2 separate regions of the Homo sapiens genome follow, and region 1 is linked to region 2. Evidence: promoter capture Hi-C in human tissues and cell types (Jung and others, 2019). All regions are on one chromosome and are shown on one strand. The core of a region is centred on a gene start or on the middle of the fragment in contact, and the rest is flanking DNA. Distances in the headings are between cores, read along the strand shown.

Region 1 (6,443 bases), core at 3,769-6,268, 48 kb before region 2:
GCTTAATATTCCCTTTGAGTGTGATCTATTATATTATATTCTCCTAGGCCTCAGAAAGAACCCCTGAGAGAATGAGGGAAGATGGAATTGTTGGACACAACATCAAATGACTATCATATCTAGAATTACAGACAGATGACAGATGTATGGGTGCAAAGGTTGTGCCTGGTACTTCCATGGGCCAAAAATTGAATGTAAAAGACAGGGAAAGGCAAGTATAAAACATATAGCACCTGATTTAATGTTAAGTTGGCACAACTATGGAAACACCACCTTTACCACTGTCTGAGGTTTCAGCAAAGGCTGCTCAAGTAAACCCCAGTTATTTCAGTATGGAGCTGGCAGATGGACGCTGCAGATACATTTCTCCCACCAGCCTCTGTCTGAGAGGCACTAGGCATGGCAAGCATGGGGGCGATCATTCCAAATGCCAGGAAGAGGAGTGGGTGGAAGTAGGCAGCTTGCTAAAGTAAGCCCCTGAAACCGTCACAATTAAGAACTACAATAGCTCTTAAACAGCATTATGACTATACCAATACCTTCAAATTATATTCCAAACATATCCTAAGGTATTTTGAGAAATTAAGGTATATTTAGGACAATGATTTCTTCATTCAGAAAAAAATAAAAATGGGAATGACATGCTATTGAAGCATGTAGGCATTGATGTGCTCCGTTGTAGTAAAAAGCATAGACTTCGGTGTAAGGTAGGTGCTTCATCAGTCTCAGCACATAGAGATTCATATAAAAATTATCTAAAGTTCAGTTACATCTCGATCATTGTCATTTCATTGGACTGTGGGCTGCTCAAGGAAAATTTACCTTCTTGAACCCTATTTGGGAACATGGGAGGCCCAGAATAAATAATCAAGAAACTTATCTCTAAAAGGAGGGTAGTGATCATATATCTACTTCAAAGTTCTTAAGAGAATTATGATATACTATAAATGAATTGCTATGGGTAGTTTGCTGCACACAGTAGTTTTCAACAAATAAAATATGTTAATAATTATTACAACATTGGGTAACTATGAACTCTTGAAGTAAACAGAAATTATCTGGAGAGAAATTTGGAAAGTTGAAAATAGGTTATCAGTTTTCAGGAGGAAATAAGCATTTGTTTCTCTCAGCCCCAGACAGAATAGAGACTAGAGGTAATGCAGAGTTTTGTAATTCTCCTTGCATCCCTACATATAGACAAGAGAACGCACTGAATGTTTTAATATGAAAGGATAATTCTCTTAAATATTTCTCTATATCTCTGTGTGGAGTCTAATTTCAAATTGTCTTTCATCCTATATTCCTTATCTGAAAGTTTAATTTTCAATTCTCAAATGACTTAAAGGACTGCATTTAACTGGGTCCAGCATTCTCAAATGCCCCTGGGGACTTCAAAACAGTCCAATGCTACAAGTCCCTTTTTCACTTTACGTTAAAGTGCATTAATCCTAGGGGCCATCCCAATACGACCTTCCTCTGTCTTCCTCTGAGTATAGCATTCTTTATCCTTTCCTTTCCACATTTAGCCTTCATCTTTTAATAGCAATTTTCCACCAAAGTTGCAGAAAAGTCAGAATTTTGCCTTTTGTGTCGCTTTAATAATACCCTAGATTGTTATCAGCTTGTCATCCTTCTTAAGTCCCGATGACAAAATCTGATCACAGGAACCCAGGAGTGAGAAGTAGGAACTTGAGTCACAATCTCAGCCTTGTTCCTTGTGGAGTTGGGAGAAATGATTCATTTATTTCATGTGTCAATTTGCTTACTGGCACAGATATAGATATAGATATAGATATATAGAGAGAGTTTTGCTCAAATATATTCACATGTTTATAAGTTTACCTGGGACTTAAAGCCAGATCTTTTTACTTCTAGCCTAGTTTTGCTATTACAGCACCTATGTAATTATACCCAGAGTTTTCCTTTGAGACAGAGATAATATGTCCAGTTATGGGAAGGATTTTAAATGTCCTTGATCAAGATACACCTGTTACCACCTCACTCTTGTTTCTATAAAAAGAAAACTAGACATATTAGGTTAGAGTTAATTATCAAAACTCTTGCCATTAACTGCAAACAATAAAACCTATCAGGCTGTTACAGTATATAATTGGCATGAGTACCTTGAAAATACGTGTTTTTATTATGTTTATTACAGACACACACACACACACACACACACACACACACACCATCAGAACCTCTATGAACAGCAATAGTTTGGGTTTTTTTTTCCTTGATAAAACTACCATGGATGGCAGAAAAAGAGTTGAGGAGAAAAAATAAACAAAACTGCTATACCAAATCACCACTACCTACAAATAAGACTCAACAAAAATTCTGGGGCTGAGTCTAAAATCAAATACTGGCTCAGGATTTGAATCCATAATTCAAAAACCTGCAAAAATTTGTCGCAAGTTTACAGTTCTAGTGAAGCGCGTAACACGGTGTCTTTCATATGTGAAATGCTCAACAAAAGTTGGCTTTAGCATCTGCGTCATCATCATCATCATTATCATCACCATATCATTACCAACACTACTTATCTGTGCATATATTAACAGTGGCAGATTTTTAGGACCAAAATATCTATTAGTACTCAATTATTCAATGTCAACCAATGAAATGGCAATTCTGTTTTGTACTAATTCAGTCTTGGGTAGAGGAGAGAACAGTTGCTTGGGGTCCCCTACACTTGTTAATTAGCTTTAGTTCTACTCATAACTAGCCATATGGCAATATTTTAAATTATTGTTAGCACTATGCTTCATGTACTTTATCTATAAAACAGAGGAACAAAATTAAGAATGCTTCATTAAAGAAAAGGTTAAATCGTAGCTCAATTGTTAAGATTAAATACAGGAAAAGATTTTAAAAGTTGCTTGAAACTACTCTTTTTGACAATATCTTCCTCTTACACAGGACTGTTAGAGACATTAAGGATTTTTTTTTTCCATGAAAAGAATAATAACAATCAAGACAATGTGACCTTTACATTATTTTGTAGCCATTCTTTATTAAATCATTTTCAATTACTTCCTCCTACTGACAAGGAGATGATTCTGGTTTATCGCTTCTTAGAAGTTAACACCGAATAATAACTGTAAAATTGAATTTAGTACAGGACCAATATTTTGGACTTGTAATTAATAAAGCTGTCCCAGCAGTACAACAAAGAAAATTTTGCTTATGTTTATAAAATATGACTGTTCCCATCACCCTACAATCATTTTCATGTTAATATCATGTGTTCTCACCTGCTCTTCTGAAACCAATTTTACATAAATTAGAAATCATGCTATAGGTCACTGACAGAGTGAGACAGTCTTGACCCAAAACAATCTCTTTTTGAGAGGATAATTCTCAGACAGACATTTTCATTCTTGGGCAGTATTTTCTCTGAGAGTATGGTATTCCTTTCTCTTTTTAAAAGTAACTTATCCTGGCACATGATCTTGGGATCTGAAAACCAACAGAAACCAAAACTGGCAAATCACAAGCCTGGGACTCTATTCCCCATTCACGTGATTAGGAATTCCTTTCAACCTCCCTAAGGTCTTTGTCAAAGTTATGGTCCCATATTGCAGAATTAAATGTCACAGAGTATTGCCTGCCCCACTACTTCTAGAGAAGACTCCATGAGATCTGGTGACTGGGCCCCTCCGACATGGCCAGGTAGGTGAGTCATGTATAGTATAAAGGATTATACTATTGTTAATTGTTGGTGACAGTTTTGTAATCCAGATATTTGCTTCCCCTGCCTACAAAGTCCATCCCTATAGAGGCCTTCCCTGGTGCCCCTTTGTGTGAAAGCATTGTGCATCTTATTCCATGGACATCAGGCTTGTTCTTGGGATTTGCTTTGGTCAGTAGAATGTGAGTCAAAATTACTTAAGACCCACAAAGCAGAGGTTTTAAGGACAATTTTACTCTTCTATTATTTCCCCTTTTGGCTATGAGAATGATATACCACAGAATAAAGAAACACTGGAGGTAGAACAATTGAGATTGTTCTTACTTTAATCCACTGAGATTTTGAGGGTTATTTGTTACCATAGCATTGTCTAGATTAAGCTGACCAATACAGACTGACTCTACCATACTTATATGCAATCAGCTTAAGATAAATAGATAAAGGATAGATTAGATAGATAGATAGATTGGTAGATGGATAGATGCCAAAACAATAACAGGAACATAAATTACACACTAGATAAAGAAATAGGGCCAAGAGTAATCCTTTCTGGAAACACACACACACACACACACACACACACACACACACATGCACGCACACCCCTTGGTGTTTAATTCATAATTGGAATCAGACTGTCAGTCAGGAAAGATGAGTGTCTATTCAGTAACTTACACCATGATATTGCACAAGGTTCTTACCCTCTCTGTCAACTTTTCTACAAGGTTGGTTGTACCTGGAAATTTCATCTGGAAAATGAGCATCATATTATGGAATGGCTGTGAAAAATGAATGAGCTGATGTATAGAAAGTGCTTCACAATGTTAGCACATATTGTCATTATTATCATTATCATTATTATTTTAGAGGTAGTGGTGTCATTATTATTTTGACTGCCGACTCACAGGACTATACAAGTTCAGCCAATTTATACAATTAAGATATTAAAAACAAAATAATAGGCTAATAAATTAAGGTCCTTTTATGCACTCTTGATGGCAAATCTTCTTCCTGTTTGAAGACCTGAGTATCTTTTCCTTCCTCTCTGAAAGCCATGTCACAGCCACTGTCCTACCTTCACCCCATCCCCAATTTCTCATTCACAGTAATTTCAGTTAGCATCCACCCTTGCTCCTCCCACTCATGGCAGGTCTATGTTTCCATGCTGAATTCATTTTATCAGACCTTAGCTAACTTATCAACCATCTCTATGGCAACACCCTGGTCCCCTTCCCTCACCTAAGATCTCCACACGGGACAGACAAAGTAAATCTGTTAATTTCTGAATGTGACATAATAAGAAAACATGATAAAAGTTTTGTTAGGAATTCTAGGGGACATAGAGAACGCAAATACCCACCATATGTTTGCTTCGTAACAGAGATGTTAAATACCAGGAAATATGACACAGTGTTTCAGGAGTGAAGTAAACCTTCAAAATCAGTCTAGTCTGATTTTTATTTGTTTTGAGATGAAGAAATTGCAGGTTCAAAGAGAAAATGACTTCCTTAAGGTCATTCAGCTACATGATACCACAACCAAAATGGAAACCTTTAAATGGGAATCATAGGGTATGCAGAGCTCTATACACAGCTGCCTCATTTTATCAAAGTAAGTAAAGAATAGGATTTTATTGCAGAACATTAACTATGTAGATCTTCAGAAAACTACAAAGGGACAAAGTATCAGTTTGATTGACAATGCAAGACTGCTAATGTGCAAGACAATGGCAACAAAGCAAAACGACAACAAAGCAAAACGGCAACAAACCAAAAACGGCAACAAAGCTTTTAGCTGCTTACATGTGAGTTGGAAAAGAAACTAAAAGACGGTGAAGACTACAGGCACAGATGTCCATATATAGAACTTTGCAATTTTATTTTTATTCAAAATCCATCTTCCATGAAAGTGGACAGTAGAGATAAACTGAATGAACTTAACATTGCTTATGTTAGATATTTATGATACATAAGCCCAGTTGCAGAATGTCAAAAGGTGAGATCTAGATTGACAAAATTCTGGCACTTCTTTGCAATTCACCTAATCTTTATTTTCAGGCAAACTTTGGTTAAGTCATAGTTTTAGCATTCATTTTTTAGAGTGTCATTTTGTGATAGAAAAATCCTCTTTGCCCTTTATTTATCTTATTTATTTATTTATTTTTGAGACAGAATTTCGCTCTTGTTGCCTAGGCTGGGGTGCAAATGGTGCTATCTCGGCTCACCACAACCTCTGCCTCCTGGGTTCAAGCGATTCTCCTGCCTCAGCCTCCCATTATCTTTTATTTTAAAAGATAAAATAATATTTTTCATCTCTACAGATACATATGCTATCTCATATTAATTATCTCTAATTTTCCCCATTTTTATAGCGATACACCTACACATTGCTTTCCAAAATATGAAAACAGTAACTCAAGAAGAAAACATAACTCCAAAAATAGGAAATAGGACAGGGAGTAGTAGAGACTTTGGTAAACTGGAGATTGTATTACCCACATGTTGAGACAGGTGATAATTCAGCTCTACATAATTATTTTTACATGGGAATGAGGGCTTTCTCAGATGTTTAGGATATAAGAATCTTTTAAATTTCCCATGAAAATTATCAGTTGTTTATTATTAGTTGAGAAATAAAATGAAATTTAACTCTGTCCATCCTAAAGACCCTGCTATAGGCAGGAGTCAAATAATGGGCTGTCAAAATTCAGAAGCTCTGACTTTACCTCTTTGGAGTAATTTCCCTGTAA
Region 2 (6,343 bases), core at 3,834-6,333:
CACATTCATACTTATTATAGTATGTTGCTTCTAATCTATTATGTTTAAGTAAGTCATTTAATCTATCTATAATCTTGGTTTCCTAGTCTCTCAAATGTGGTTGATGATAAATACTTTGCGGAGTCACAGGATTGTGTCTGTGTATGTGTGTTTGTGTTTGTGTGTATTATTTGATTCAGTGTGTATGTATAACATGACACAAGCAGCGCATAAAATTGATATTATCTTATGGCTATTTGGTTTCTGGCTTTGAAGAGGTCACATAGGTGTCTGATCCCCTGGCAGCAGAAAGACGCATTGTCTTCTGCATGTCTACCTGAATAAAGTATCACATCTGGAATATTCATCTCAATTGAAATCATGAATCTTTAAGCATTTGAATTGTGCCGACACCCACAGTGGTCAAACAATCTCCAAACTACTCTGATTATAACTTTTCATTATAATTCAATCTTCTTAATCAGCCAATTTGGCAGAAGTGTTTGGAGAACGATAAGTATGTATAATTCCAGTAAAGCCTACTTGTACCTAAACTGAAAAGCCTGTCTTGGAATGGCTGGGAAATTGTAGTAGGGAGGTAGCCAGGACCCTAGTAACATAATATTTATAGCAAAGAGATACAGTATCTAAAATTAGTCTTAACTTCCTTCCAATCTGAACGGAAATCCTTGGAATGAAACAATTTTTTGAAGTATAGAACAGAGACCTCTATCATTAAAATATATATGCTTTAAATCAATTATTTTGAGGAAATTACCTGATCTAAATGAATCTAGGACGTGAAAGAGACATTTATATAACTCATTATTTAAATTACAAGCCAATTTTCAACTTCTGCCTACAATTCAGGTGTTTTGTTTAGGTAGTAGTGGGTGACTGGGTTCTGGGAAATACTGGGTGATGAGTATTTACGTTCTGTTTTTCTTTATTTTTTTTTTCAGGTTAATGGCCTCAGGGTAACCTTTTGAATTTGAAAGGTAGAGTCCCTACCATTCAAATAGTCTACCCAGTCTACCTCAGGATAGACTATTTGAAGGGTTTTGTCTACAACTAAAGCAATTTAGTACGCTGAGGAAATAAAGATTTTTCTGGTGGATACCAGATGGGGCATTTAGAAAGACAGGAAATGACAAGCTTGTCTGTAGAGATTAATTCTGTAAACAAATAAGGGTATATTGAAGAATCAAAATATTTTTTTCTACATGCATAGTCCTAGCCAGTTAAAGAAACATGTAAAATAAAATTATGGAATAAAAACACTTTAGCAGCTCATAAGAAACATCATCAAAAGCATCTTTGTTTAGGTAGCAGATAAAAATAGAAAATATGTATAAACCATTAACTGTATTTTCTTTTTAAAAATTCAGAATGAGCACTTAAAAGTAAAGTTTAGACAGATCATCAAAAATTCAGTCCATTTTATTTCTGCTCAATTTATCCTTGAAAAATAATTATTTGTCACTCTAAGTATATTACAAAATCTTGTTTTATTCTAATAAAATAAAAACATTTTATGTTTCAGTTATTCTTATTTACTCTAAATTATTTTTTATGTTTTTCTATATATTTTTTTCCCTTTAGGGTATTTTTACTCTGAGATGGAATAAAATTACACTGAAAAAGTTTATAAAGTTATAAGATTTGTTTTAAAATCTCTATGCATATATATGTGGTATATATATAGTTTTTCAATATAATCACATACACATTTATATATGTATATATGTTTTATTTTTTTGGAGCCAATATCTTCTTATAACTAATGTTGGTGTATTCTTTATACTATTCCTTATGCTTTGTTATATGTATAATATTCTCAATGATTTACATACAAATAAAAGATTGAAGTTAAATTGATTCATTCTGCCCAACTGAATAATAAAGTATGAATAATCAAAACACCTTTAAATATTAAATATGATGATAAACTTTTGGAAATCAGAAAAGTATAGACCACTTTTCTTCAAAGTGAGGTCTAGGGTACTTGTTGAAAATACTCCTGTTGAATATTCCTTTTCTCCCCAGACATAATGATTCAAAAGCATTCAGTGTATAGTGTAGGAATCTCCATTTTAGTAAGTTCCCCAGGTTATTTTTTATGACAGCACAAGCTATGTGAATGTTTCAAAAATTTTGGGTTTCAGAAATTAACTATTTCACTTATAAGAAGAGATATTAGTTATTAATATTCTCACTACGATGCTTTATTTTTCTCTTTGTTTCACTTTTGTAAAGACATAGACTAATAAATTTTGTCACTTAATGAGGGCGAAAACAATCTTTTGAGTTACATAAATAAAAAACCAATTTTTTTTTTATTTATCTTTAACTTTCTAGGTGGTTCTGCTACTACTGTCTACCACAAAAGTATTATTTCATAAGTACCACTTCCTATGGACTCCTCATGTCTCAAATATTTCCCAGTTATTTATTGTCCTTCCTCAGGATCAACTTTATAAATCAAAGCTTCTATTTACCTCCAGTCCTACTCAACAATTCAAATGACTTTTTTTATGGGATTGCAGCAGACTGAAACTCTGATCACATTCTCTGCACCAAACAGCAATGACTCCATTCTCTGTCACTATGAGAGAATGTAAAAATTACCACTTTTGGGAGTTTCCATTACAGATAGCTCATATTTATAGAGCTCTTTTAAAAAACTCATCTAAGATAGTCTGGTACAAATTGAAAATTAAAATGTATCATCAAATTTACTTTGTATAAGACATTGAAATGGAAAAGGTGGGGCTGTGGCAACAAGAAGACATCTTAAATACTATTTTCTTATAAACTATAGTAAAGTTAAACATGTTTAGGTTAAAATAGGGTTACTGGAGAGAAAATACATAATATTTTATCTATTAAGTTAGACAACTGTTTACTAAGATGGAGATGAGTCAAAAAGAAAGACATTCCCTTGTGTCTTGTCTAGATTTTAATCCACAGGTTTCATTAATGGTAGAAATAGGGGAAAGATATTTTCTTTTAGTAAGTAACTGTTTTCTAATTTCCGAAACAAATTAATAGCTATCCACAACCTTAAGTATAAAAATGAATTCAAATTTTGAATCAAAAAATTACTTTTTTCAGGATTTCACCAAATTGTATTACATATAAGACTGTTTCCAGTAAAAGGCCCTCTCATATTCTGAGAAAGCTACTGAAATGTTATAATCCTAGTGAAAATACATTCTATTTTTATAGTAAATTAGTAAGGTACAAAAAGTGCTGGAAGAGTTAAGCAGACCCTCTCTCTGTTTAGAAACTCCAAAGTGAGGCTTTCACTCTTTGTTTTGCCTGGGTCTCTTTATCATAAATCTATCTGTCTTATTACCCATCTTACAGAAGAGGGGGCCAGAGAAGTTGCCTAGTTTCAATAATTTTTTTAAAAACTAGTTTAACCTCCATCCTTTTCAGCTGCTTTTGTTACAACTACCATGTAAGATTGTCGACCCACAAAAAAATGTTAGGGCACTGTCTTGATATTTTCTATAGCTAGTTTTTGTTTGTGTCTTTCTTTATATTGGTAGGATATGAGAGGTATATTTATAGAACTTTATTTCAAAATGAAAGTATAGAAGAATGCAAGTAATGTAAATAGTGGACCTCTAACATGGCTTTGGTCCTAGTTAGAAAGCTTGGAGAGCGGGGAAGGTGCTTAGGTAGGTAGACGAATAGTCAGCTAGGCTGCATGGATGGTTGCTCCTCTAATACTCTTAGCTCAGGAAAGTTCAAGTAAATTTAAATGCCGGGCACTTCAGGGCATACACATTCTCAGGGTTTTCAGGAGTCCAGTCTCCAGCCTTACCTTTTTTTTTCTATTCAGTGCAGCAAGGTTTTAAAACATTAATGTGTACTTCACGATTATGGCATCACATTCACCTGGTTCAGCATATTTTCCAACACTGCAGCAAGGCCAACTCTTTTCCAGACGTATATTCCCCTATGCAATCATTTAACTACGTTCTCCACCCTATGCCCAATAGTCCCCTTCCCATATCAAGGAGGGAGTAGAGGTAAACAGATCAGGATCTGTATATTTCATTAGTGCCCCGTGGCTTCATTGGCCTTCTCTCTGACTCTGTGGATGCCCTGAGTATATTTAGAGACGTTCTATCAGGTTAGACAAGCCTCTATCCCTTTGGCCCTCACCAGGACTGCTGTCCCTGGTGCTGAACCATGTTTGCACACGGGTAGTTGGCTGTTGGGTCAATGGGACTGGATGCAAAACCTGGCTGACTGACCTTAAGAATGCCAGGTGCAGAAGCATGCGATGCCTTAGTACACAGGAACAGGGCCGCCCGCCGCCCCTCCCCCCAGCTCCCTCACACATATCTCTCCGGTGTGCGCCAGGACCCATTTGTAAATTTCTCCATCAGACCCCCACCCAAAATGCTTGCAACACGGCCTCAAATGCCGGCGTGTATCAGCACAGCCCACTCCGATATCAGATTGCAATAATGTCAAAATGCTACTCCCTAAATATTTAGTCTTTATGAGGTTACCTTTTCCACTCTAAAACCAAACAAAAAATAAAATAAAATCCAATAAATGAATACATTAACGAAAGTGACCTTCCACTTTCCTCCCTCCAGTCCCCGCCCCATATATTCGCTCTCTCCTAAATTGTAAAGCCGCACATCCTAGGAGAGTGTTTTAAATCTGGGTGGTCTCCCGAGTTACCCCTCCCCACACCTTCCCCCCACCTCTTCAGAACAAAACGACGCCAAAAAGGGCACATCTTACCCAGGGTAGAGCGACAGCAGGAGCAGAATCCACACCGTCATTTTCTGTGAAAATACAGGAGTCGAGTAGACTGAGCTTCCTGTGCTCCATATATTTGGCGAACTCATCGCTTTTTTTTTTTTCCTTCTCTCGCCTCTTGCCTCTTGGTTGCAGAAGAATCCCTCCCCTTTGTATTATTCTTATGCTTATGATCTGATGGTGGCTCCCCCCACCTGCCTCTAGTAGGTCCTTCACTGGGGAGATGGATTGCTACCAGATTAGGGAATTAATATTCAGGGGGCAGAGATAAGATCAGCAAAAACGCTTGCAGATACCATCAAAGCGTCACTCTGGCAGCGGCTTCCAAGTCTGGGGGAGTAATATCATCGAGGCAGGGGGAGGGTACAAGGAGAGACTCATACGGAGACAAATAAGGGAGAGGGAAAGACACGCACACTCGTGTATACTCATGCCCCTCACACTTACGCGTTCTCCCCTGGGTCCATCTCTTTGGGGTTATTTATTTGTTTGTTTTGATTTTTTTTCTTTTACAGGGGGCAGAGCCCTGTGGGTGTGTGTATTTAAAATAAATAGGAAAAAAATCACTAGAGACTCTGCGTGATTAACTATCACGCAGATTAACTATGAGGTCAAAGTGGAAGTGATGCACGCTGCTGCAGCACGAATTAACACATGCGTGGTGTCTTTCCAAAGCTTTTTAACCCTTTACTGCACACACCAGCATGCAAGGACTGGCATTCATGGGGACAAGAGATGCTTTAGCAAGCCCAGAAGCTACATCATCAATGACAGAAGGTTTGTGGTCGTCAGATCTGCCAAGAATCCTTATTTTAAACTCGTACAGTCTTAGAAATCATGGTTGCATTGTTAGAGCTGGGGGAGCAGACAGTGGGGGAGGTGTGAGTGTCTCAGTAAGTCATCCTGTAGGCAGACAGATTTGGTGAATTCAATTTGAATGAGAGAAGAAAACATTGATAGAATTAAAGGACATGGAGAAATTCTATGCTACTCAAGATTCATTCCTCCCTTGTCAGTTCTCCAACCCCAGTGAAAATGCACAGACACAAAACTGCTTGAAGTTTGACAAATGTAATTGCGTGGGGATAGCTGCTTGAATAAAGATTACACATCACAAAATAGGAGGGCTGTTTTTTGAAGGAAGGGTGGGCAGAGGGGTATAATCAGGAGGTCATTTAACAATGCAAAGGGATTTCTGTTTGTCATGTGGGGGGTTGATTTTTTGTTCTTGGTAATAATCCCGAAAGTTTTTAGTTTGGATGAGTGGTATTAGTATGCTTCTTTCTTGCCTAGAATGTTACTATAGATACTAATATGTAGAAGATACCCCCTTTATGCCAAACCAGTTCATCCACCACAGAGGAAATCCCTTTCATTAATCATGAAAAATAAAGTGGGGGAGTGTTTCATGGTTCTTTAAAGTCAAGATACCACATTGAAAGTATGCAGGAAGCAGTAGTAGTGATGAGGAACAATCTTAGCTCTTTGTGGAAAGTGACAAGGAGTTGTTTCAAAATAAGTGCCTTTTTTGCAAGAAAAAAGTCTTCCAGGAATGGAACTTGGGTAAGGAGTCTAG

Evidence for each region. Contacts are between HindIII fragments. The study calls those that stand out against the background at their distance.
Region 1: a fragment that was not itself captured here is called in contact with the fragment with the promoter of GABRG2 in region 2 in 3 of the 25 tissues and cell types used here (H1 embryonic stem cells, dorsolateral prefrontal cortex and hippocampus).

What each region holds. Positions count from the first base shown.
Region 1 is chr5:162,113,954-162,120,396 of GRCh38, reverse strand. All of the region lies in intron 6 of GABRG2 (gamma-aminobutyric acid type A receptor subunit gamma2), which reads right to left. Among named protein-coding and RNA genes, the nearest start is that of GABRG2, 49 kb to the right of the region's middle. The HindIII fragment of the contact is 8,232 bases long and covers 903-6,443 here.
Region 2 is chr5:162,066,513-162,072,855 of GRCh38, reverse strand. It overlaps GABRG2 (gamma-aminobutyric acid type A receptor subunit gamma2), which reads right to left and starts at 5,083. Exons shown (of 10, transcript NM_198904.4): 1 at 4,750-5,083. The coding sequence starts at 4,856. The HindIII fragment of the contact is 5,062 bases long and covers 3,054-6,343 here.